Linked DNA regions of Homo sapiens: region 2 is linked to region 1. The links are contacts of gene promoters, found by promoter capture Hi-C in human tissues and cell types (Jung and others, 2019). All regions are on one chromosome and are shown on one strand. The core of a region is centred on a gene start or on the middle of the fragment in contact, and the rest is flanking DNA. Distances in the headings are between cores, read along the strand shown. Region 1 holds the start of ZNF845 (zinc finger protein 845). Region 2 has its middle 23 kb from the start of ZNF701.

What was found. Contacts are between HindIII fragments. The study calls those that stand out against the background at their distance.
Region 2: a fragment that was not itself captured here is called in contact with the fragment with the promoter of ZNF845 in region 1 in 6 of the 25 tissues and cell types used here (adrenal gland, liver, ovary and 3 more).

The regions. Positions count from the first base shown.
Region 1 is chr19:53,332,499-53,335,409 of GRCh38, reverse strand. ZNF845 (zinc finger protein 845) reads right to left here and starts at 1,661. Exons shown (of 4, transcript NM_138374.3): 1 at 1,618-1,661. RefSeq lists enhancers at 1,173-1,262, 1,533-1,582, 1,681-2,545 and a silencer at 1,653-1,872. The HindIII fragment of the contact is 26,552 bases long and covers 1-2,911 here.
Region 2 is chr19:52,591,818-52,594,517 of GRCh38, reverse strand. It overlaps a transcript of ZNF701 not described here. Among named protein-coding and RNA genes, the nearest start is that of ZNF701, 23 kb to the right of the region's middle. The HindIII fragment of the contact is 6,608 bases long and covers 1-2,700 here.

The DNA.
Region 1 (2,911 bases), core at 412-2,911:
TCACGCCTGTGGTCCCAGCTACTCAGGAGGCTGAGGTAAGAGGATCGCTTGAGCCTAGGAGGTCGAGGCTGCAGTTAGAGGAGATCACACCACTGCACCCCAGCCTGGGCGACAGAGCCAGACCCTGTCTCAAACTATAAATTAATTAATTAAATTAAAATTATTACATAATAACAGAAAGTGATTTTTTTCTCCCACTTCACTGCCCCATTTCCTACCTCACCATGGGAAGAGGGAAGAGAGGCTCTCACAATTGAATTAAGTCACTACCCTCTGGCTGAATAGGGATTCCAAGTGGAAGCTGACCTCTAATGCCAAGATTTACAGAATGTATGTGTCTTATAGATAGGAATTTTAAAATTCTCAATATCATCTGTATAATTTAAACAAGTTCTAAGTTATTAGATTATATAAACAGAAGTCAACATATCACAACTAATCATATCCAATGAACTCACCCACTCATCTGAACCCAAAGTCCCCCACCCCTTTTAATCTTTTGAGACAGGCTCTGCTCTGTTGACCAGGCTGGAGTGCAGTGGCATGATCTCTGCTCACTGCAGCCTGGACCTCCTGGGCTCAAGTGATCCTCCTGCCTCAGCCTCCAGAGCAGCTGGGATTACAGGTGTGCACCATCACGCCCAGTTAAATTTTTTTTTTTTTTGACAGAGATGGGGGGGGGGGTCTCACTATTTTGCCCAGGCCGGTCTTGAACTCCTGGACTCAAGCAATCCCTCTGCCCCAGTCTCCTAAAGTGCTAGGATTACAGGCGTGAGCCACTGCGCCCAGCCCCCCTTTCTTCATTACTGTGCTTCCCTCCCTAATTCTGTACATATCTCTCATTCTCCCCTTCTCTCTCTAGCTCTTGTTTTCTTTTTCCCTGGGATCTGCTCCTCCTGCTGTTTTTTGTTTTGTTTTGTTTTTTTCATTTTTGCTCTCTCTTGGCAAATCCCTCACTCATCCTCTACTTTGCCATCTGTTATGGTCTTTCTCATTCTTCTTTTCTCTGTCTCAGGTTTTCTACTGCTCTCTCTCTCAGTCTCCTGATCCCTTTGGCCAACACAATCACAGGAGGGCTTTGGAGTAAGACGCCTGCATCCCGGAGGAGCGCATTTTCCAGGGGCTGGTGCAGGGCAGGCAAGAACACCCGGTGTCATAGGACAGCCCCGGGCACCTCCCCAACGCGGGCTCAGGGTAAGCGGTGACTGCGGTGGGGAGACCTGGGGAGCATAAGGGCCTGGAACGAGGAGGGAGGTGGGGGGCGACGGCGCCTTAAGACAAGACTGGGAGGCGCCAAGGGCGGGAATCCGCCTCGCGGTAAGGACTTTAAAAAGTGCGGGTCGGGAGGAGTCAGAAAAAGGTTTTGAGCAGGGAAACTACGCGATGGGAAGTGTATACATTGCCCTATAGCAGAAAGATTCGGGAAGGGACCATCCTCAGGGCGACTTTAAACCCAAAAGGAAGCGACCCCTGGACTCTGACGAGGACGTCTAAATTTGCTCTAGGTGAAGGAACACGGGTGAGAATTTCCAGGTCTATGGGGACCCCACGTCCCAGGTACAGAAGCGCCGGGGACTTGGGAAGCGCAGACTTAACACAACACAGAGCAAAACTCACCGCTGCGGTGGGACCATCACTCCATGCGATCCGCTTCCGGGTTTGCGCGAATCTGCGCGCGCAGGACAGAAGCCAGGCCTGGGCGGGACCCGCGGGGAGGTAGGCGGGGCCTGAGCGAGGTAGGGGCGGGGCGCGAAGCGGAGAGACCTTCCCCTTTAGAATTGGCAGAAGGCGGGGCCGGGGTGGGACCCGTGCGTCTCTCAACCTCGCTCCCAGCGCCTCTTGTTTTCGAGCTTTGGAGGCGAGACCGGACAGGAAGGCTGAGGCATGATTCAAAAGCCCTGGAATTGTCTGAAACGGGGATGCAAACTAGAATGTGAAATGCAAAGCCCTGCCTGGGTGGAACATACGATTTCATGCTGACGGCCCACAGAACAGAATAGAAATCCTCTCCCTTTCTATTCTCCATTCACTGGGAAAGGAGAGTCCACCCTGTCCTCAGCTTCAGAGATTTCCCTAGGGCCTCCCCCTGGGATGCGGGACGGAGTGCTCAGGCCAGGGAGGAGTGAGGTCACCACCTACTGCTTAAACACAGCAGAGATGCGGGCGCGGGGCGAAAGCCTGAGGTCCCAGCTACTCAGGAAGCAGTGGCAGGAGGATCGCTGAGCCGGGGGGGGGGTCCAAGTTAGCCTGGGCGACAAAGTAACACCTCCTCCGGCAGCGCTCCCTTCCTCGTCTCTCTCTCTCTCCTTTTTTAAAATTTCTTTAAATAAAATTTTTGATTTTGTGAGTTAGGGATCCAACATTATTCATTTTCACGTGGATATCCAGTTAGTTGTCCCAGCACATTTGTGGAAGAGATCTATTACTTTCATTTTTATATTTAGATTTTTCTTTTCTTTTCTTTTCTTTTTTGAGACAGAGTATTTCTCTGTCACCCAGGCTGGAGTGCAGTGGCGAGATCTCGGCTCACTGCAACCTTCACCTCCCGGGTTAAAGTAGTTCTCTTGCCTCAGCCTGCCAACTAGCTGGGATTACAGACGCGCGCCACCAAGCCTGGCTAATAGTTTTGTATTTTTAGTAGAGACTGGGTTTCACAACGTTGGCCAGGCTGGATTCGAACTCCTGACGTCAAGTGATCCACCTGCTTCGGACTCCCAAAGTGTTGGGATTACAGGCGTTAGCCACCGCGTCTGGCCAGGAAAACTCTTAGAAGTTGCGCCTGCATACCACTGGACTCAGCTTGCATGACCACATTCCTTTCAAGGCTCAGAATTATTTAAAGATCCATACATTTACATTGGAATTATTTGATGTTTGAAATATTTAATTTCCTACCGAGATACGGGTACTG
Region 2 (2,700 bases), core at 18-2,517, 740 kb after region 1:
AAAAACAAAAAAAACAGAACAAAAGGCCAGGTGCGGTGGCTCATGCCTATAATCCCAACACCTGGATGGAGGCTGAGGCAGGCGGATTGCTTGAGACCAGGAGTTCAAGACCAGCCTGGCCAACATGGTCATATCCCATCTCTAATAAAAATACAAAATTAGTCCCCTCTCCCTCTCCCTCTCCCCATGGTCTCCCTCTCCCTCTCTTTCCAGGGTCTCCCTCTGATGCCGAGCCGAAGCTGGACGGTACTGCTGCCATCTTGGCTCACTGCAACCTCCCTGCCTGATTCTCCTGCCTCAGCCTGCTGAGTGCCTGTGATTGCAGGCGCGCGCCGCCACGCCTGACTGGTTTTCGTATTTTTTTGGTGGAGACGGGGATTCGCTGTGTTGGCCGGGCTGGTCTCCAGCTCCTAACCGGGAGTGATCCGCCAGCCTCGGCCTCCCAAGGTGCCGGGATTGCAGACGGAGTCTCGTTCACTCAGTGCTCAATGGTGCCCAGGCTGGAGTGCAGTGGCGTGATCTCGGCTCGCTACAACCTCCACCTCCCAGCCGCCTGCCTTGGCCTCCCAAAGTGCCGAGATTGCAGCCTCTGCCCGGCCACCACCCCATCTGGGAAGTGAGGAGCGTCTCTGCCTGGCCGCCCATCGTCTGGGATGTGAGGAGCCCCTCTGCCTGGCTGTCCAGTCTGGAAAGTGAGGAGCGTCTCTGCCCGGCCGCCCATCGTCTGAGATGTGGGGAGCACCTCTGCCCTGCCACCCCGTCTGGGATGTGAGGAGCGTCTCTGCCCGGCCGCCCCGTCTGAGAAGTGAGGAGACCCTCTGCCTGGCAGCCACCCCGTCTGATAAGTGAGAAGCCCCTCCGCCCGGCAGCCGCCCCGTCTGAGAAGTGAGAAGCCCCTCCGCCCAGCAGCCACCCCGTCTGGGAAGTGAGGAGCGTCTCCTCCCGGCAGCCACCTCGTCCCGGAGGGAGGTGGGGGGGTCAGCCCCCCGCCCGGCCAGCCACCCCATCTGGCAGGTGAGGGGCGCCTCTACCCAGCCGCCCCTACTGGGAAGTGAGGAGCCCCTCTGCCCGGCCAGCCGCTCCCTCCGGGAGGGAGGTGGGGGGGTCAGCCCCCCGCCAGGCCAGCCGCCCCATCCGGGAGGTGAGGGGCGCCTCTGCCCGGCCGCGCCTACTGGGAAGTGAGGAGCCCCTCTGCCCAGCCACCACCCTGTCTGGGAGGTGTACCCAACAGCTCATTGAGAACGGGCCATGATGACAATGGCGGTTTTGTAGAATAGAAAGGGGGGAAAGGTGGGGAAAAGATTGAGAAATCGGATGGTTGTGGTGTCTGTGTAGAAAGAGGTAGACATGGGAGACTTTTCATTTTGTTCTGTACTAAGAAAAATTCTTCTGCCTTGGGATCCTGTTTATCGGTGACCTTACCCCCAACCCTGTGCTCTCTGAAACATGTGCTGTATCCACTCAGGGTTGAATGGATTAAGGGTGGTGCAAGATGTGCTTTGTTAAACAGATGCTTGAAGGCAGCATGCTCCTTAAGAGTCATCACCACTCCCTAATCTCAGGTACCCAGGGACACAAACACTGCGGAAGGCCGCAGGGTCCTCTGCCTAGGAAAACCAGAGACCTTTGTTCACTTGTTTATCTGCTGACCTTCCCTCCACTATTGTCCTGTGACCCTGCCAAATCCCCCTCTGTGAGAAACACCCAAGAATGATCAATAAAAAAAATAAAAATAAAATAAAAATAAAAAAAATACAAAATTAGCCAGGTATGGTGACATGCATCTGTAATTTCAGTTAGGTTGGGAGGCTCAGGTATGTGAATTGCTTGAGCCCAGAAGGTGGAGGTTGCAATGAGCTGAGATCACGACACTGCACTCCAACCTGTTCAACACTCTGTCTCATAAAAACAAAATGAAACAAAAAACACAAAACCACAAGCGCAGCTGGAAACACTTGTCAGTCAGTGTGATGCTTTCTATCTCATATCCTGGGCCATGGTGACAATTCCGCTCAGGGCCTCCAGGGGCATCTCTGCCTAGAGCAGGATGATGTTCAATCTTATTAGTCAAAGTGTTCTTCATGAATTTTCTGGTTTTATGTAAAACCACTCCATAAGGGAGTCTCTAAGAAGCTGTCCATGACAAATATGAGGGTCATCACTGTAGAAAACAATGACATGTACATGAAAAGCATGTATGGGGCAACATCACAAAAGAGAATACAAAACCAGGAAGAGCCAAGATAGACAAGGGCAGATTCCTCATGTCTGGAGGGATATTTTCCTCACCCACAAACTCCAGGTTCCTGTAGTTCTCCAACATCACTTCCCTGTATAAAGCCCTCTGTGCAGGGTTCAGGCATTTCCACTCCTCCAAAGAGAAATCTATAGCCACATCCCTGAAAGTCTAGTGTCCCTAAAATGAAAGACAGATTTCAACAAAACATTAGGGAGGAGTGAGTCATCACCTTCACATGAAATGAGAAAAGAGAAAATAAGTATCGATTTGATCCAAGACGGTGTTCTGACAAAGCCGCATTAAGGTATTTTTGAACAGTTTTTTCTGTATAGTTGCATTTTATTGCACTTTTCCTTGATAGATTTTAAAATCCCCTAAGTCACTGTGGAAGTCTCAGTTTTATGGACAATATAAAAAATATATGGCCAGGTGCAGTGCCTCAGGCCTGGAATCCCAGTACT